Regions from separate parts of the Homo sapiens genome. Here all the other regions are linked to region 1. Evidence: promoter capture Hi-C in 16 types of primary human blood cells and fetal thymus (Javierre and others, 2016). All regions are on one chromosome and are shown on one strand. The core of a region is centred on a gene start or on the middle of the fragment in contact, and the rest is flanking DNA. Distances in the headings are between cores, read along the strand shown.

The links. The method cuts DNA at HindIII sites, captures the fragments that hold promoters and counts their contacts. A CHiCAGO score of 5 or more calls a contact.
Region 2: a fragment that was not itself captured here is called in contact with the fragment with the promoter of CMPK2 in region 1 in 2 of 17 cell types (fetal thymus and monocytes); the score reaches 7.3 in fetal thymus.
Region 3: a fragment that was not itself captured here is called in contact with the fragment with the promoter of CMPK2 in region 1 in 2 of 17 cell types (M0 macrophages and M1 macrophages); the score reaches 5.1 in M0 macrophages.
Region 4: a fragment that was not itself captured here is called in contact with the fragment with the promoter of CMPK2 in region 1 in 1 of 17 cell types (total CD8 T cells); the score reaches 6.6 in total CD8 T cells.

The regions. Positions count from the first base shown.
Region 1 is chr2:6,862,159-6,867,552 of GRCh38, reverse strand. It overlaps CMPK2 (cytidine/uridine monophosphate kinase 2), which reads left to right and starts at 1,646. Exons shown (of 5, transcript NM_207315.4): 1 at 1,646-2,531; 2 at 3,975-4,089. The coding sequence starts at 1,857. It also overlaps a transcript of RSAD2 not described here. RefSeq lists silencers at 1,386-1,655, 1,896-2,335 and an enhancer at 1,656-1,875. The HindIII fragment of the contact is 2,067 bases long and covers 1,119-3,185 here.
Region 2 is chr2:9,004,539-9,009,739 of GRCh38, reverse strand. It overlaps LOC124907728 (a long non-coding RNA gene), which reads right to left. Exons shown (of 2, transcript XR_007086199.1): 2 at 877-4,271. Among named protein-coding and RNA genes, the nearest start is that of MBOAT2, 3.5 kb to the right of the region's middle. The HindIII fragment of the contact is 1,319 bases long and covers 897-2,215 here.
Region 3 is chr2:4,129,964-4,135,099 of GRCh38, reverse strand. No RefSeq gene overlaps it. Among named protein-coding and RNA genes, the nearest start is that of LINC01304, 160 kb to the right of the region's middle. The HindIII fragment of the contact is 2,802 bases long and covers 2,108-4,909 here.
Region 4 is chr2:9,424,202-9,429,251 of GRCh38, reverse strand. CPSF3 (cleavage and polyadenylation specific factor 3) reads right to left here. Exons shown (of 18, transcript NM_016207.4): 2 at 424-487. Among named protein-coding and RNA genes, the nearest start is that of CPSF3, 3.1 kb to the right of the region's middle. The HindIII fragment of the contact is 3,044 bases long and covers 42-3,085 here.

The DNA.
Region 1 (5,394 bases), core at 397-2,896:
CCCAAAATTCATGCTCAGGCCTAGCCCCCAGTGCCTCACAGTATGACTGTATTTCAAAATAAGGCTTTCAATAGGTGATTACATTAAAATGAGAACATTATGATGGGCCCTAACCCAATCTGACTGGTGTCCTTCCCAGAAGAGGAAATTTGGAACTTCAAGGAGACGCCAAGGATGCAAGCACAAAGGAAAGGTCCCGTGAGAACACAGAGAGAAGGAGGCGGTCTGCACGCTAGAAAGAGAGGCCTCAGAAAAAGCAAACCCTGCTGGCAACTTGATCTCCAGCTTCTCTGGCCACCTGAACTTTGAGAAAACAAATTTTCTATTGTTTAGGCGGCCCAGTCCGTGGTATTTTGTTATGGCAGCCAGGATAGACTAATACATCCAGAGAGGTGGATGGCATAGGGAAAAGGTCAAGCAGGCTTGAGGATGCAGTACTGTCTTAGAGAAGAAAAGGGAGTAACTAGAAGACTCTTACTTCCATATACTACATACACGTGAAACCACCGGTACATGCTAAATGTCCAAAAGTGAAATTCCTGAGAAAGAATAAAAACTATTCTATTCTCAAAGAGCTAAAAAATTTTAAACTCCTAATTCTTCTTTCTTCTTAGCCTATTAACCCACACTCCAACCACCTATCTATATTTCACGTTTGTTAAGACTTTTTTTTTCAGAATTAAATATAATCCCAAGTTTAAGTCCAATACTATTAAGACATAAAAAAAAAACTGCTTTCAGCTCATCTAATGTTTTCAATCTTCGTCTCAATTCTATTTTTTTGAGAGAGTTTCCCTGGAGAATATTATCTTTTTGTTTGTTTTTGGTTTGCTTGACATCATTTTTAAAAGGCATCAGTTAATGAGTAAACACAGAATAAAATATCCAAATAACTGCGCAAACACTGTTACACTGTTAGGCAGTTACACTGTTAGGCAGCAACAGTGCTGATGCTGGACTGTGGCAGGCAGAGGGTGCTATCCTGACACACTTCACCTTAGTGCAGGAAACTTCAATTTGGTGGAAGAAAGGCGATTTCGAGGTGCCAATCTGGGCGACACTTCCCAGTTGGAGAGTCAGCAAAAGGGAGAGGGCAATTCCAAGAAGAGGGAAAAGCTTGTGCACAGGTGAGTGTGTGCAAAGGTGAGTGTGTGCACAGGTGAGTGAGTGCACAGGTGAGATAAGATACAGGAGAGGGAAGAGCCAGAACTGCGCCCTGTTCCCGCAGGAAAGCAGCTCTGCAGGATTAGAGGGGCGGGGACGCGTGGTCAGAGCTAGGAGTTGAGGTCGGGGAGGGAGCCCATGGTCTGCAGGGCCTGGTCAGTCATCCAAGGGCAGTAGTGCGCCTGCAAGTGGGCGTTGAAGAGCCCGTTACACCGGGAAGGGACTTCTCTGTCCCTCGCGCGTGCACCCCCGCCCCCCTCCATGCACCCGGCATAAGCCGCAGAGGAGGAACTCAAACCAGGGTCGGGGCCGCCAGCCACCCGCAGAACGCACACGGAGCTACCTTGGGGCCGACGGCGCGGGGCCTCATTCGGTGTCAGCCCCGGGAGCCGGCGCCTGGGGACCGCGCAGGCCCGCGGAGCCGCGCACCTGGGGCCCCGGGGCCAAGCGTCTGCTCCCGAGCGCCGGCCGTTTATCGCGCACATCTCGCGGCGAGGAGGAGAGGCCGGAAGGGCGCCCCAGCCCCAGGGCTCCTGCCCCGCCTGGGCCTCCGGCTTTCGTTTCCCCGCAACGCTTCGCTTTCGTTTCCCGCTGGCGCCTGGCTCCCTCCGGGTTTCGTTTCCCGCCGGCGCCTGGCTCCCGCCAGGTTTCGTTTCCGAGGCGGGGCCGAGGGCGGCGTCGCTGAGGCGCCCATGGCCTTCGCCCGCCGGCTCCTGCGCGGGCCACTGTCGGGGCCGCTGCTCGGGCGGCGCGGGGTCTGCGCTGGGGCCATGGCTCCGCCGCGCCGCTTCGTCCTGGAGCTTCCCGACTGCACCCTGGCTCACTTCGCCCTAGGCGCCGACGCCCCCGGCGACGCAGACGCCCCCGACCCCCGCCTGGCGGCGCTGCTGGGGCCCCCGGAGCGCAGCTACTCGCTGTGCGTGCCCGTGACCCCGGACGCCGGCTGCGGGGCCCGGGTCCGGGCGGCGCGGCTGCACCAGCGCCTGCTGCACCAGCTGCGCCGCGGCCCCTTCCAGCGGTGCCAGCTGCTCAGGCTGCTCTGCTACTGCCCGGGCGGCCAGGCCGGCGGCGCACAGCAAGGCTTCCTGCTGCGCGACCCCCTGGATGACCCTGACACCCGGCAAGCGCTGCTCGAGCTGCTGGGCGCCTGTCAGGAGGCACCACGCCCGCACTTGGGCGAGTTCGAGGCCGACCCGCGCGGCCAGCTGTGGCAGCGCCTCTGGGAGGTGCAAGACGGCAGGCGGCTGCAGGTGGGCTGCGCACAGGTCGTGCCCGTCCCGGAGCCCCCGCTGCACCCGGTGGTGCCAGACTTGCCCAGTTCCGTGGTCTTCCCGGACCGGGAAGCCGCCCGGGCCGTTTTGGAGGAGGTAAGAGTTCTGTCCGCTTCCAGCTCCCAGCGTGGCATCTGAACCCTTCAGACCAGAGAACTGGACCAAGAGGCTGGTCTGTAGAGCCGGTTCTTGCCTGGGTGGTTTGTTTATTTCCGTTCACAAATCAGGTAGGGAAGGTGTCCTGTATGCCAGGCAACTCTTTTAAGATTCTTGTTTGCAAGGATCTTCCAACCTGACGTGGAACATAGACCTACACCAAGCCACGCGATGCTTGCTGTAAAAGCATCCCAACAGCAGTACAGAGGGAGTAAAGGGGCTGCCGGGAGTGAGGGAAAATAATGTCAGCTGGGAAGTAATTTTATTTGCTGATGATCACCATTCAAGGATCTTGGGGTGAAAAAGAAAATGCATGAGTTTAGGGGGTTTAAGAAATTTAGACTTAAATAGTGTTTACCTACCGACTGGCCATGAACCTTGTGCAGGTTACTCAACTACTCTAAGTTTTGCCCTTTGACATGTACAATTCCCATCTTGCGATGTTGTCCTGATTAAGGAAACATCTGACTCACAGCAGGTACCCACAGAAAGAGACTGAAAATTCTTTCTGATCGCAGGCTAGGCAGATGTCCTCCTGTGACACAGATGAGCCCTGAGGATGCCCCCATGGATCTTGGGAATATTTTCCAAGCTTACGGGACAGCGTTGTGGAGCAGTTAAGAGCGCAAGGTCAACCACGTGTATTTAAATTTAAACTCTGGCATTTATTAGCTGTGTCACTTTGAGCAAGTTTCTTCAACTCTCTGCCTCAGTTTCCTTAATTCATATGGTGGGAATAATAATAGCACCCCCCCACCCCAGTTCACAGAGATTGGCAACTGAATACTTGTAAAGCACTTAGAAGATTGCCATGCTCAGAGCAAGCACATAAGTGTCTGAGCCTCGCTCTGAGATGCTGTGAGCGTGCAGTGAGATAATGCACATTGAGGAACTGGGAATTCCCAGGGGGACGCTGCTCTGCCAGCTTCATGATTGCAGTGCTTGGCTGTTTATCTCAGCCCCCTGAATGGCTAGGAGAGGACATGCTGCAGATGAAGACTGCTCTCTCCAGCCCACTGTGCAGCTGATTTCCCATTCTTGTGAGACAGTGTTCCCAGCGGGCCTGTAGTTCCATGGTTGCGGTGTCACAGGACATTGTGATGATGTGCCTTGCCTGGCCTTTCTCAAAGCTGCTCAGTGAAGGCTGCAGGCCACCAAGCGATCCAGACAGGGACAGCTGTTTCGAGCCTCGGCTGCTCAATATAAAATAAAACACTCCAGTCCATCCTAGCATCGAAATACTCTGAATTCCCATGGCCTGGCACAGTGCTCAGTATAACTTAGGCCTTATTAGCATGCGGCAATATTGTGCTCAGCAATTTAGGTGTGATTTCTGCAAAAGCCCCCTGGCTTCATTGCTGATGGATAGACGTTGTTTTACAGTGTACCTCCTTTATTCCTGAAGCCCGGGCAGTGCTTGACCTGGTCGACCAGTGCCCAAAACAGATCCAGAAAGGAAAGTTCCAGGTTGTTGCCATCGAAGGACTGGATGCCACGGGTAAGATAATATTACCTTTTAGTTATAGGCAATGACACTAACTGATTAGTTGCAGAAACAGAAATACTTCCTGCAAAACCAAACTTTATATGGAGCCTTATGTGTGCCCCTACTGTGTGGCAGGCCCTGTGCTAGGCAGGCCCTGGGATGCAGAGATGAATAAGACCTTCAATATGAAGCAGCATGATGTGTGGGCGCGGATCCTCAGTGCTCTGGCGGAACACAGGAAGGGCACTGAATCTGGCCTCTGTGGGGCTTTGTCGGGTGGAGTGCATGGTCAAGGGTGATACCTGGATTGTATTTTAAGTACAGATAGGAGTTGGTCAGGTGATGAAAGCAGGTAACATCCTCCAGACAGAAGAAATAGCCTGGGCAAAGGTGCAGGGGCTTGAACCAGGGTGGTGTGTCCAGGAACCACAGGCAATTCAGAGATTCTTCTGGAGCAAAATGTGGAAGAACTAGGAAATGGAAGAAAAAAAAGCCTTCTGAGCTGTCAAACTGAGGTCAAAATATAATGTGTGCTCACATGAGACCAAAGTACAAAAGGGGCAGACATGCTGCTCCTGTGGCCCAGGACACACTGAGGAGAGGGTTGATGTTGGAGAACTAGCATCCGAGTGGTTCAGCGTAGGAGTTTCTCCTCCTGTGTAAACTTGAGGGGTACAGACTTTTAATAATATAAAAGGCAATTTCCATATAGAGGTACTTGTGAACCCAGCTAGGGAGATGTGGCACAGGTGATGGCCCATGTTGACCATCCTGGCTCCATGTGAAGGAGCGGGCCATGTCCTGGCCTTCAGGGAGACCAGCTGTCATCACTCAAATGTACTGGCCGTGTCCAGGACCCATCACAGTTTCTTTCAGCTGCAGAGGGAATTGTAACACCATCAATCCTTCAGCTGATGTGTTTTGTTGATCATTTATTTTGTACCCACAGCTAATTTAGATTTGGTGGGATTACAGGAGACATAAAAATTCAGCCTCAACACAAGCATCCACACATACAAATGTTACAAGGAGTTAGCATAGAGTGGCAGAAAGAACACAGGCTAGTGGTTCCGTCTGCCCTGCATTTGCATCCTGCACCAAGGCCTATCAGGAGGGTGAGTTTGGGTAAATTTATTAACTTCTCCAGTGCTCAATTTCTTCTTCTGTCAGATGATTAAATAATAACTGTTTTGCAGGGTCACTGGGAGAATTAGGAGTATAACGTGCTGAGTACTTGGCTCCTAGCAGACACTGAGAAATGGTAGCTACTGTTAGGGTCCGTCCTGACAACCTAAGAAAAAAAGAAAATAGATAGTT
Region 2 (5,201 bases), core at 307-2,806, 2.1 Mb before region 1:
AACAATATCTCTTTCATGATAGGTTTACCTTTAAACTTAATGTTTTGTGGTTTTAATAACAACTGTCTTGTGATAAACAGTATTTTAGGCCTAGATGAGAATGTAAATAAGAGGGAATAACTATTTGATTTCAAATGGAAAATAAATTAAAAGATAATTTGATGAGCTTGAAACCAGACTATCATCTGATTATAAGGCCATTCCTTAGCAGGTAACTCATGTTTATCCAGAGTCATCCATCCTGGAGAGCAAGTTCTTTGGCAAGAGAACCAGGTTAGATGTGGTAACCCCAGACATGATGGGAAGAGATGACTCTCATTTCTAATTTTTCACTGGCTAGAACTCTGACATTAGTTAGGACACTGGTATTGTAATCTGTGGACCAAAACCCAGCATCTATAAAATGACAATAAGGGAGGAAGGGTTTAGGCATAAAATACCCATAACAAAATATGCAGTTTGACACATTTACTTCTAAAGAGGGAATTCTGCTGAAAGTGATAGGCTGCTGGGGACTACACAAAACTCTTCAGCAGGCTGGAGAATAACTTACAGCTTTCTCTTTGTCACAGAGCTGGCAGCAGAAGAGGGTGGGTGTAACTCCTCCCCTAGTAGCCAGACTACACTGTTTAGCAGAACAGTGATATGTCAACATGTATCAGAAGGGCAACTCTTCTTACAATTATAGATAAACAGAAAGAACCTGGAATATTAGGCGAACTGAGAAAATGAGGCCTTCTTCCCCAGTGCAGTGACCCCAGCAGATGCAATAAATGCTGCTAGTGGTGACGGTGATTATGATGAACCCTGGGGAGGCTACAGCAATTTATATTTAAGGTGTTTCATAATTTGGACACAAAAACTATTATGCAGATATGCAAAAGCATGAAAAAGCTTGAACTTTATTTTTCTGTACCTAGGAATCAGGGGTTGGAGGCTGCATGCTCATGTTGTAATAAATAAGCATGAAAGGGGTGTTCTTTGTATTGAGATTTGACTCAATCATATAAAGATAAAAATGCCAAATAAATCTATGAGGAAAATAAAATGTTTCCCAAGATGCGCAGATATAAAACAGAAATCTTTGCAGTCCACCAAGAAATAATAGGCATTTTTAAGGAGAAAGACTGATTAGAGACGTAATACATTTGAGGTAGTCCTGGAACCTGTGGAATAATTAGAAAGCAGTGCTATTCCCAAACTGATGAGTAATAGTTTCATTTGCATCTTTTAGCCTAATTTAAACCTAGACTGTGGTCTCACAGAGACAGAGAAAGTCCCAAAAATTCTTGGGAATCATTTAATTTTAGAGGAAGAGGTGACAATTGAAATCATTTATTTAACAAATCTCTTAACATGTTCCCAATGAAATTGAAGATGAGTGATTTGTTTGCTGGTACAGTCCACGTCCGTGGTGGAGCCAGAATACAGTGGAGCCAGGACTTCTCCTACTGTGTTTGCTACCTCTTGTTCAGCCTACTTTGTGATTTCCTAATTGAACTATGTTAGGTCTTAAAGGGTGACATTCTCGTTCCATTTTCTAGTCTCAGGCTAAGGTTAGCTTGCAAGTGCTTAAAGATGCCCCTCTAGTTAACTTGGGTTGTTATTATGTGTATGGTTCAATGTTCTTCATCCATCAAAATTATTCCAGGGTATAGGAACATAGAATAGGCAAAATAATTGCCTGAGAGATGGAATTTCATGGCACATACTATTTTTACAAAACAAAAGCAGCTTGGCAGATTATTCATTTCTTCCCAGTGGTTTCTTCAATGTTAAAAATAAGTTGGGAAGGAAACATCTCATTTTAGCAATCTTTAATGATCACAGCGATTTTAGGAGGCGAGGGCAATGAACCCAGGACAAGAGCACTGCCGCACTGCCATCTTACCACACGTGGATGCTGCCTGGTGCTCCTGTGCCTTTGTCTAAGTAACTCTTGTTAACAATGTGGCTGCTATATTGAAATCCCTTTACTACTAGTTATTATTTCTCAGACTAACAGTACTAGTAACTTTAAAAATAATTGAGTCTATGATTAAGTTCATGCTCATAGTCACAACACTCCTATGAGGTAGGATGAACAGTTACCATTATTCATATTTAACAATGGGAAACTTAAGGCACAGAGAAGCTAAGCCAATTTCTAAAGTTCATAGCTATCTGGTGGAAAAGTTAGGGTTAAAATTCAGGTCTTTTAACTTCAAGCTAAGCTTCTTTCTTACAGACATATTCCTTTGATTTTAACATTAAAAAAAGAAACTTCCTTGATACTTTTCTTGTAACATGTGAATTTGTGAATACGACTGTTTTCTTCTTTTGATTACAGGCATCATTTATCCTTTACGTCACCCCACATAGCTCCTTGAACATAGTAAGTGGTCAATAAATGTTTTAACACAAGAATTGCTCTTTATAGGATGGATGTTACCCAAGGTAGGGCAGTGAGGCATTATATACAATTAGTTTAATTCTTTTCTCTTTTGTCTCCACTGAAGAGCTTCTGGTATAATTAGCAGATACTGGTCAGGCTAATTGTATGGCCTGCACACAGTTTATGCTACCATCAATGAGTTATCAGCTTAAAATGCCAGCTTCAATTCTTCATTAAAAACATGAAGAGGTAGTATATTTAATACGAAACAAATGGTTTCCATTTTCAGAATTATACTAAATTTCTTGGATTAATATTATGTGTCAGCTTGACTGGGCTAAAAGGTGCCCAGATAGAGCTATTGAAACATTATTTCTCAATGTGTATTTGAGCATGTTTCCTGCAGAGATCAGCATTCGAATTGGTACATTGAGTAAAGATTTTCTCACCCACGTACCCCGGCGTCATCACATCTGCTGAGGGCCCAAATAGAACAAAAAGGTGGAGGAAGGGTGAATTCACTCTGAACAGGGACATCCATCATCTCCTGCCCTCGGATATCATTGCTCCTGGTTCTCAGGCTTTTGGACATAAACTGAACTACACTGTTGGCTCCTGTGTTTCTCAGGCCTTTGGGCTTGGACTGGACCTACACTACTGGCTTTCCTCGGCCTTTAGCTTACAGATGGCAGATGATCGTGGGACTTCTCAGCCTTCATAATCTCAACCCAATCTCTCATAATAAACTTCTGTCTATCTATTTCCATATCTATTTATTATCTATCTATCTATCTATCTATCTATCTATCTATCTATCTATTCTATCTAGAGTTCTCCAGAGAAGCAAAACCATATCTATCTCCTATTGGTTGTGTTTCTCTGGAGAACTCTAATATAATCTTTCTTAAGTTTTATCATGCACCAAGCACTGTTCTGAGCTCTTCATATAAGTACACCTTTATAACCTCATAAACTATGGAGTTGGTGCCATTATTACGCTCATTTTTACATGAGGAAATGGAGACTTAGAAAGGTTAAATAACTTGCCCAATATCTTGCTGCTAATAAATGGAAGAGACTAGGTGTGTTTGATTCCAAAATCTAAGCTATTATTACTACTATACTATATTTTACCTATAGTTTTGTAACTCTGACACAGCAAAATTTTCCCAGATGGCTAAAATCTTCCCTATTCTCTCTCTCTCTCTCTCTCTCTCTATATATATATATAATTTATTTCTTTATATTTTTTGAGACAAAGTCTCACTCTGTCACCCAGGCTGGAGTGCAGTGGTGTGATCACGGCTCACTGCAACCTCCTCCTTCTGGGTTCAAGCAATTCTCCAGCCTCAGCCTCCTGAGTAGCTGGGACTACAGGTGCCTGCCACCATGCCCGGCTAATTTTTTTTGTATTTTTAGTAGAGACGGGGTTTCACCATGTTGGCTGGTCTGGAACTCCTGATCTCAAATGATCCACCAAACTTGGCCTCCCAGAAGTGCTGGGATTACAGGCGTGAGCCACCATGCCTGGCCTATTTATTTTTTTGAGACAGGGTCTCACTCTGTCATCCAGGCTGGGGTGCAGTGGTGCGATCACAGCTCACTGCTGGGATTACAGGCATGAGCCACAGCGCTCAACCATTCTAGATATTAAATAATTTCATGTAGTTACCCCAAATACAGATTATGTTCTGTCATGTCTGACTAAAATAAAAATTTAGCTTAAGGAAACTCCTTTCTGCAGACATTATTTGTTCTAGCTCTGAGATTGTATCTCCATGCTGCTTACTTTAGGTTGCAATATGTTCCCAACACCCACCTTTCAAGTTTTTAAAATGGCATTTCAATTTTTTCTTCAGTTTGTATGCTCAGCCACCTGTGCGCTTCCTCTACTTTTCTAAAGTGAAGAAAAGGAAAAAAAAATGGTTTCTTTCTAATATAATATTAATAGGTCTGGGTTTTTGGATTAATATACTGTAATAAGCAGCTCTCTAATTGATTACAAATCCCACTGGAACACTCCCCTGGGGGAATGAAGGTCCTGTTCTTTTTACTCTTCCTTTTATCCTCTATTCCATTTCAGCTGAGAATCCACCAAACTAGGATTGAGTCGACCAGTGAAAGGATTCTAGGCAAGACGGGATTGCACTGATGAGTTCCACTGCCTCCTTTTCAGAGAGACAAACGTAAGCCCACAGACTGATTACTAAGGCAGGTGTATTTTTATCTGTGCTGCCTTCTTATTCAAGACTCTAAGCTAGTCATCAACCCAATGGTATAACTGATAGCTGACGGGAGTTTCTGGAATGGGTGTTAAGTGTGAGAGAGATGAAGGCCTAGTGATAAGGTCGGCTCTAAATGTAGATTTACTTGGATTCCAATCTACTTACCAGCTGTGTGCCCCTGGGCAAGTTACCTCTTCTGTGACTCAACTTCCTTGAAGGAGGGTGTGTAAAAGTGTCTATTTCACACGGTTATTGTGAGGATTAAATACCAAAAGTATTAAAGCTGTGGTTAAACTCTCAGTAAACATTAGTTATTTCTACCAAAGTTAAACTGCCAAATCCTTGAGTCTTGATTTGTCCTCATAACTGCTGTGGCATTTCTCCTCTTTTAAAGTCTTCTGAACAGAAGTTGACGTTTGCATTTTAAAGGAACTCAAATGGCTTACTTTTACGAAGTTGGGGGGATTATATATACACGTGACCCGCCAGGGTATGTAAACCTGGCGGACTTCAACAGTCTGGGGGTGCCTGCGCTCAAGGGGTGAAGGGATGCTTAGAAACTTTCTCAGGAAGAAGGTGGGGCCTTCAACGAGGGCGGCTGG
Region 3 (5,136 bases), core at 2,259-4,758, 2.7 Mb after region 1:
GTTGGATGGGCCTGTCTCTGCCTCTTGTCAGCCGCAGATCACGTGGGGACACTAGTGAACTGGGGGTGAGTGGGAAGAACCAGCTTCCCAAGCCCCAACAAAAAAAAATGCCAATTAAGGAAGCACCTCTGCAAAAGAGACTCTTTTTACCAACGGAAGCAAATCCAGACTAGCAAATTAGACCTTGCTGGGGAGCAGCAGGGAAGATGATCCAAAAGACCAAGGCACAGAGAAACCCTTATTTATTTTATTTTTGTTTTAGAAAAACACCCAGGGGAGAGGTGAATACTCTTTGACAACAGCTGCCAAGAATAACAAGACTCAGAAGAAATTAGGAGGCAGCAGCTATAAATATACAGCATAAGAGGAAATGCAGCCCACAATTTTAAGGGGAAATGGGGCCTACTGCACTCAAAGACCAACAGTAAAATTCATTTAAAGGCACGGGGCATCCCACTGGAGGACTGAGAGGAGTTTCACAGGCTTATCTTTCATGTCAATCAGAAAAATATATACTTGATAAAATATTTTTCTTAAGTTAGTTAAAAAGTGGCTGTCATTAGTATCAACTTTGGGGGCACCAAAAATTGCTTTATGACTCATGCATTAATTTAACAAATTGTCAGTAAGAACATACTATGTAATGTGCCAGTTGCTAGACATTGAAAAGCCAATAAGAAATGTCTTTCATTCTTGAACGCTAAGAGCTCACAGCCTCATAAAGATCAAAGTATTTAAATTTTTCCATCATGCATCTCTTGAGTTTCCCAACTAATCAGTTAAAACAGTGAGCCCAAGTTTCTTGGTCAGTGATAATGAGCCTTTTTGGAGAGACACATTATATAGTAGTAATTCCATGGATTTGAATTCCCTCTGTGCCATGCAGTGGTTGAATGACCTTTAACAGAGTTTCTCGACCTCAGTACTGTTGACATTTGGGGCTAGATATGGAGACACGGGACTTCCCTGTCAAAGGGGCCATCTTGTGCACTGTAGGGTTCAGCAGCATCCCTGGTCTCCACCTCCCAAATGCCAGGAGTACCTCCCACTTTTGACAAGAAAAAGTGTCTCCAGACTTTGTCAAATGGCCCCCCGTTAACTGCACTGTGCACAAAATTTTTAAAAAATCAAGAAACTAACGTTGCTTCCTTTTACTTTCCATGGCCCTCTGTAAAAAGAGGAGTTGAACGAATTATTACAGTAGTCCGTGATTTTAAACCCTTAAACGTAGTGTGTTGCCGGGGAAAAATCATGGCTTTAGATTCCGTTCCAATTCCATCCATTTCTGGTTGTTAGCTTTGGGTGAATTCCTTCATCTTATTGAGGCCTGGACTCCTGTGCAAACGTAGGAATGGCAGGGGGACTTAAAGGGTGTATGCTAGAGTGCCCAGCATACAGGAGATGCTCCACAATTCAGGGCTAAGCTATTGCAGCAACTCTCAAAAACTAGTCTTTCTGATCTAATCTGATGATTGCATATTCCTATTGATAAATGTATCCATGAGAAAGATAAAACAGCTGCTCTAACAGCTGTCTGAAAATGTCAAAATGAATAACAAAATTAAAGTTTTCTCTTGCTATACGAAGTCTGGTATAGATGTTCCTCACAGGCTCTGCTCCAAACAGTGTGAGGAATCCAGGCTCCCTCCATTGCCAACATGGCCATTCATGGTCTCTAAGCCACCACATGTGTGCCAGGTGCACAGACACCCCACTGTGGCCTGAAGGGGACACATTCTGTGCTCTCATGTCCCAGCAGCCGGGAGAGTCACATGATGCCACCTGCACACAGGAAACTTGTGGAGTGCAAATAGTCCTCTCTGCGAATTAGGCACTAAAAATAAAAATAAAATTATAATGCTGGCTTTGTTACAAACAGTTTATAGTATAAGGGGAAACATAAGGAGAAAAAACATAAGATATAAATATTAAGTGATGTATAAGCTTCCACTTAGGTTGTCAAATAAGATTGAATTATAAGCCCCTTAAGAGATAATTGAAAATGCACTACCAGCAACTCTAGAGCAGGCAGGCGAGTGCTCTGAGGGTTTTCCAAGAAAGCCAAAGATAACATCTAAGGAAGCTTCCTCTGTCCTCCAGTAAAGCTTCTCAAGACAGCTGACCTCATCTTCAATCACTCTAGAAATTCACAATGGGATAATCTTTAATAAGAAACTGATCTGAATACAAAATTAGAAATAATAAAAATACATAGGTGATAAGTTGCTTTAGGGATATGTACAAATGATTAGATATATGCCATTTTTAGAAATGAAGGTTATAAAATGCCACTGATAAAATAATTTTGGTGACTGTATCAGTTTTCTATCACTGCCATAACCAAATACCACAAAATTATTAGCTTCAAACAATACAATGTATTATCTTACAGTTTGGGAGATCAGAAGTCTGAAGTGGGTTTCCTACACTAAAAGCAAAGTATCAGCACAGCTGCATTCTTTCCAGAGGCTCCAGGAGGGAATCCACTTCTGTGTCTTTTCCAGCTTCCAGAGGCTACCCGCACTGCCTGGCTCATGGTCTCTTCCTCCATTGCCAAAGCCAGAAGGAGCACCTTCTCTTTCTGACTCGGCCTCTCTCTGCTTCTGCTGTCACCTAGCCTTCTCCTCATACTGACCTTCTGCATCCTCTTAGAGGGACCCTCAGACTACATTGGTCCCCTCCAGAAAGTGCAGCAGCATCCCTTATCTCAAGATCCTAAACTGAGTCCCATCTGGAAAAGCTCTTTTACCATGTAAGATAACATATTCATGGGTTCTGGGACTTAGATGTGGGCATCTTTGCAGGTCCACTACACAGCCTGCATCAGTGAGTGATGTACAGAATATTATTATTGCTGCAACTCATCTGTATATTAAACATAGGCACATTGCACAATTTCCTCAAGTTTAATTAAACAGTAAATGATGGCAATGTTTATGATGATGCTGACCTTTGTACCTTTAGAATAGCGGAATATGAAGAACTTAATCTTCATAATCTTTCAGAAGGGCCCAGATGCAAGTAGTCAAGACGAGTGGGTTGGCTACAGAGACAATCATCAAACCTAGACAAAATATTTAAAAGGCAGGCAATAACTGGAGGATTTTTTCAAGACATCCAAAGATGGCATGTAAAAGATAGTAACCCATGCCTGAAATATGGGAAAGCAATGGAAAGGTTTATGAGTTTGCAGCTTTTTGCTAAAGGGCATTCTCCCATCCACATGTGGCTCTGGAAAGAGCATCAAGAAAGTTAGGGTAAAATCCTGAAAGAGAGGGAGCCACTGAAGAGGAAGCACTAAAACATGCACATAAATTCTGCCCAACTCATTGGTGGACTGCTAAATACACAGGTGCAGTGGGAGATGCTCCATGGAGCCCAACAAAATGAAGCAGCAAGAAAGTGAAGAACTGAGGGTTAATTTCAGCTGCTGCCAACTGCAGAAGAGCCAGAGGGTGGAGTCTGAGTTCAGAGGAGCTCACTGCCTCCTAAAACAAGCTCAGCACACTTCAAGGGGACAAAAACCCAGAGTCTCCACAATGTGTCACATGTGTTCAAATTACAATCCAAAATCACTAGGCATAGGAAGAAACAAGAAAATAGGACCAAAAATCAAGCAAAATAAGTCAATAGAAATTAAACCCAGAAGGATGCAGATGTTGAGCAAAGTCTCTAGAGCAGGTATTATAAATATGTTTAAGGATTTATAGGAAAATATTTGAGAATGAATGAATGAGGAAACCAAATGGAAACTCTAAAGTGAAAAGCACAATATCTGATAGGAGATTTTTAGTCATGTGGCTTAACAACAGACTGAGTGACAGAAAAAAGAATAAGTGAACTTGAAGATTGAACAGTAATAACACACTCTGAAGGACAGAGAGAATCAGAGCTATATTAACAATGACAAAAAATAAGCACAGTCTTAGTAAACTGTGGGAAAATGTCAAGCACCCTAACATATGTGCTGTTGCCACCCAAGAAAGAGAAGAAAGATACAATGAGTAAGAAAATAAAATATTCAAAGAAACAATGGCTGAAAAAAAACTCCCAATATAGTGATACCCATAATCCAATAAGTCGAAAAACTCATTGAAATCTAAGCAAGTAAGAAGAAAACCACAACTGTCCCCATCATAATTATTGCTAAACTATAAATTTGCTAAAGCCAAAGTTAAAAAGAAAATCTTGTGTTTACCTACAGAGAAACAACACTTTTCATTTAGAGAAAAGAATGAGAGGAGTATCAGATGACTTCTCATCATAAATGATGTAGGGCAGAAGACAATGGAACATAGTTTTAAGGACAAAAATGAATCTATAGCTAATGGAAAATATCCTGGAAAATGAGGTTGCAAACAACACATCAGATTTTTTTAAACTGAGATTATTCACCAATAAACCTGAACTTGGAAATTCCTAAAAGGAAGTTCTTCAGGCCTAAAATAAATGACATCAGGAAGATGGTAATATGGATCTACATAAAGGAATAAAGAGCACCAGAATTGGAAAATATTTCAGCAAATATAAAAGATTGCAAATAGGCTTTCTTTTTTCCATAATTTATTTAGAAGACATATTACTGCTTAAAGCAATACTTATAACAGTGTATATGGGGTTAATAATGTTTGCACAGATTATATGTAGATACAGAACACCAACACAAAAGCTGCATTGGAGATGCCTGACCAGTGCAATTCAAGAAAAGGAAGTAGCATATGGAAAGAGAGAAGTCCAACAGTCTTTATTTACTGCTATTGTAATTGTCTATATAGAAAAACTTTAAAAAAAGTTTTTTTTCTACTCAGTATGGTATTTAAAAGGAATTAATGTTCAACATTTCAGAAGCCACTCCATATCACTAAAGATATTCTACATTTTCCTGGCCCTAGTCCATGGAGATCAAGCTTTATTGTCAGGCCATGCCTTTCCCAGATGACTTTATAAAATCTGCTCACAAGAAGAAGAGGTTGCAGCAATTAGCCATTTGCTCTGCTTAATCTAAAGCAAAGCTCCTCTAAACTACCGGAAGACAGGGTCGCTGTTACCATAATCTGCTAGTAATCATTTGACATGACAGCTTGCAACATGTAGGTTAATGGGCTCAGTAAAGAAAGAAAATGTGATGAACCTTTC
Region 4 (5,050 bases), core at 314-2,813, 2.6 Mb before region 1:
GCCAAGGCCGGCAGCCCCAGTGGGACCTGGGGATCCAAGCTTCTAGGCCAAGGCTTGATCCCCACATGCTGGAGGCGGCTAGAGCTCTCAGTGTGTTCAGAGTGCTTGGGCCCTTGGGATCTTCCACTGGGGGTGGGGCAGTTAGGCTGGCTCAACCCTTCAGGAGTGGAAGAGGGACTTTGAAGAGGTAACAGTTCAACAGATCTAGCTGACAATTTTACAGTCATAGAATATATCTTCTTAATCAACTAAATTACTAAGTAGAAGTGTGTATTAGTTTTTCTCATTAACACTATACAGCATAGATTACATGTACTATAACATTTTTCTGGGAGCTAAAAAGATAACTAGTCTATGAGAAAAGACTAACACCCAATACAGACAGAGCCATACTATTAAACTGAGTACAAAAATAGTAATTACCATTATTTTTCTTCCTTTGAACTCGAGAATAATACATGATCTTCCTACTTCTTGCCCAGCTCCACTGTAAATATTCAAGGGGAGAAAAAGAAGGATTAAAAAAAATCAAAACCAAGTCCAATAAACTTACACTTTTTTACAATGTACACTACATGCCATCTGATGACAGCACCTCACTGAAAAATTCTGAGACGTAAGAGAGTTCTACAAAATCACAAAGACAGGGAAGAACAGTGTCCACATGAGAACAGATGAAAACTGATCCTTGGGAGTCCAGGGATCTTGCAGTTCTTAAAATTAAGAGAGAAGGCGGTACAGATCCAAGAAGCCCAAAGGTTTGGGCTTGATTTAAATTCAATTTTCTGAATTTTAGGATTAAATTATAATGTATTTAAAATGTAAACTAGCAGTTACGCAGATTATATAATAATACTTCTAGAATTAGCACTTAAGTAGAAAGCCATAAGCATTTCAACACTGTCATCTTCTTTAAGATCATAATGTGTATTTGCCAAATGGCTTAAATTTAAATGGCCGGGTGCGGTGGCTCACGCCTGTAATCCCAGCACTTTGGGAGGCCGAGGCAGGCAGATCACGAGATCAGGATATCGAGACCCATCCTGGCTAACACGGTGAAACCCCGTCTCTACTAAAAATACAAAAAATTAGCCAGGCGTGGTGGCGGACACCTGTAGTCCCAGCTACTCGGGAGGCTGAGGCAGGAGAATGGTGTGAACCCAGGAGGCGGAGCTTGCAGTGAGCTGAGATCGCGCCACTGCGCTCCAGCCTGGGCAACAGAGCGAGACTCTGCCTCAAAAAAAAAAAAAAAAAATTTTTTTTTTTAAAATACTTATTCATACTGTGAATTTCAATCACTTTTTCTTCTACTTTCTGTTATTTCAGCATATTTTATACCAACTACTTACATAATTTTTGTTTCTTCTTAATAATTTCAGCCATAATTTGCAATGGTCACAAGGCACACTTTAAGTTAAACCTCATCTTTCAAATCCCTCACCTTCTTTGATGCCTTTTCCCAACCATTCTAGCTCACAATCCACTCACTCACTCAACATTAAGCAGCTTCTATTTGCCAAGCACTGGATTAAGTGCCTAGGACATGGAAATGCCTTACAGGGACCCTGACCTCAAGGAACTCAGTCAGATGGACATGCAATGGATCTATCCCCAAACTGAGATCCTACCTCCAAACAGGTGTTGATACAGAAGATCAAACAACTGTGGATGAGAGCCGCCATAAATTCCTGGCCTTCCACTTTTTAAACATTTTTTATTTGTAATTATTGTGGATACCCTGGCCTTCCACTTTAACTGGCCCTCAATGTTGCCTGGCTGTTTTCTCCATTTCATTTCCATATCAACTATTTTCAAACTTTCTTCCCTTTCCCAAATTTTCCAACCTTCTATCCTCTTCTTCACTTGAGGCATGGGCCATCTTCTGCATCAAAAAAATAAACAGTCCATTTGTAAATTTCCTCAACTTCATGTTGGTACAATAATTAAGAATACATGTACCAACAGGGTACCAACCTGCCCACATCTGTCTCCTTCTATTTCTCCTCTATAGATAGAATAGACCTCTCTTTCCACAATGAAACTTTCCACCATTCTACTCTACGTACTCCCTCCCTCCTTCTGAGGAACTCAACACTGCTGTGTCATTGACATTTTCCTCACTGTCTGCTCTTTACCATCCAATCCAAATTTAAACATACTACAGCCATGTTCATCCCCAAATTAAAATCCCTTGACTCTAAGCTCCTTTAGTTCCCACTTTATTCTTTCCCCAGACCACCTCCCAGGGCAGTGGACCCTCTTGTACTTCCTCACCTTCTACTCGCTCCTCAATTCGCTATACTCTGGCTTTTACCAATCACTTTTCTGAAACTGTCCTTGCTGCTCAGTAGTCATTTCAGTCTTTTTTTTTTTTTTGAGACAAGGTCCCCCTATGTTGCCCAGTCTGGCCTTCAACTCCTGGGCTCAAGTGATCCTCCCGCCTCAGCCTCCCAAGTAGCTGGAACTATAGGTGTCAGTCCCTATCTTGTTCTCTTGGCAGCCGTTGTCACTCCTAAGGAGTACCTGCTCCTTCCTCAAGCACCTCTCCCTTGGCTTCTCTGACCTGATGCTCTCATCTTGTCTTGCTGGCTTTCCTGTTTCCTTCACATATTCAGCCACCTCTGCCTACCCTTTAAATGTTGATATTCCGAGGGTTTGCTCCTTGGCCAACTTCTCAATCTTCATTCTCATCTTTCTGACATGCTAAGGACTTCCAAGCCTGTATTTGTAACCCAGATTGTTCTTCTGAATTCTAGACCTTTAATACATACACGTGACACTAGGTATCTCTACTAGGATCTCTCCCGGGACTTCATATTCAAGATGCCAAACTAGTTTCCACCACATGCCCCGTACTTGCTCTACTTTCTTCCTGAAATGCTTTGTCTTCAGATATTGATGTGGTTGGCTCCTTTGTATCATTTGGGTCTCAGTTCCAACGTCACCTTCTCAGATGCTTTCCCTTGACTACCTCCTCTAATTTGCCCTTCACAGCAAGCCACAACCCAGCATCAGTTATCTTAATACAACTACATGAAGTTATTGTACCTACTTATGTCTTCTTTCAGGCTACTAAATGAAAGCTTCCTAAGAACAGAGGCATTGTCCATCTTATTCACTGCTGTATTGCTACAGTACCTGGCATGTAGCACATCACAAAAAATACTTATTGAATGAACAAAACTCCTCAATTTTGAACCTTGGAAAGATTATGCTAAATGAAAGATGCCAGAGACAAAAGAGTATGTATTGTATGATCACACTTACATGAAATGTCCAGAACAGGCAAATCTATAAAGAAGTAGATTAGTGGTTGCTTAGGGCTGGAGAGGTAGTGGGGATTGTCTATGACTGCTAATGAATACAAGGTATCTCTTGGGAGTGATGAAAATGTGCTGGAATTAGAGAGAGGTGATGGTTGTATAACTCTATGTTAAGAACGACTGAATTATACTCTTTAAATGAGTTGTATGGTATGTAAATTGTGAGTTGTATGGTATGTAAACTGTATCTCAATAAAGCTGTTACGAAACAACCAAATTCCCAAATTTACTCCAGAGTTGCCCCATCTCTTATACTCCTTGAGTGAATAACACTACCCTTTCCCAACTGCCAAACTTAGGAATCTGATCATAACATCCTCTCTGCCCTGCCTTCCCTCCCCACAACCACCCTTCCAGATACAGCTGATCAGCCACAAAATCCTGAAGATCTCATTTGCATACTCTCTCACACTCACATCACTCACTACAGGCTCTCGTCAGCTAGACTTAGAATCTTTCAATATCTCACTGAATCTGCTCTACTCAATCCATGCTTTTATTCATCCATGCTTTTATTCATCTGCTACACTGCTGCCAGGAGAGATTTTCCTAAAACATAATTCCCACAATATCCATGCTTGCTTAATAGCCTTCGCTGGCTCCCTGTAATTGACTTGATAAAGGTCCAAACTCCTGTGTATACGAGGTGCTTCCTAAACTGGACCTCAACTGCCTGTCGCTTCATCTGCTAACTCAACTCTTTAGCTACAGCCATGAGGAATCTGGCCACAAGCTGTGACCACTCTCACTTTCATATGTGCCACTTCCACTGCCTAGAACATCCTGGGCCCCCCAGTCTTTAACTCCTACTCATTCTTTAGGACTCAGCTCAGGCATCACATTTTTCAGGATCCACGAGGTATCCTTTTTTCCTCAATCTGTCAGAAATCCCTTTTCCATACTTTCACAGTGCTCAGTGCAATGCCTGCCTGCGTTCTTAGATTAGCTATTATTTACAAAGCACCTACCGCGATGTTCACTCTTCAAGTTTTATCTTATTTCCATATGAGAAAACGGGTTCAGTGAGATTGTTGTCCTACTAATTGGTCAAGTAGATAATGGACTTCAGGTCTGACTTCAAAGTAATAGTCTCCTATTATTCCAAAGTATCTCTCCAATATTTCCCACTGTGCACTGTAATTCTCTCCAAAAGAGCGAGAGCAATTAACTGGGCCCTCTGTTGCGTCTATATCCCCATGTGTGGTGCTTGACACTTGCTCAGTGTTTGCTCATCACAGGAAGACATGACAGGTGTGAACTAAGCAGAAGGAAACGGACTATGTCCCAAGCAGGTGCTCAATGAAGCCTTACTGAATGATTGTGTAAAGGAGATACTTTCTACCTTTTGGAAAGCGTATATTCATGTTGTGCCAACTAGTATCTAACAATAAACATGTTGTGGGTTCGAAATGCTCATCTGTAGGAATTCAAGTTCTCTACATTTGCATCTCCCCTTCAGCAGCATTCCCGACTGATGAGGATCGTGTCCACTGAAAGGCCACTCTCCTTATGGACAGTCGAGGGCTGAGTTTTTGTCCCTAACACCTCTGCACTTTCTCTTCTCCAGCTTTACACCTTCCTTATTCTACTAGGGCCTGAGCTGAGAAGATCGAAACTCACGGCAAGTCCCTAATATTTTCTAACTTCTGGCACATGTGAAGCCCTGGTGTTAAGAAACAGACTTAATTCTTCCCTGCACGGCTGTAGCCTCATTCAGGTCCTCCTCT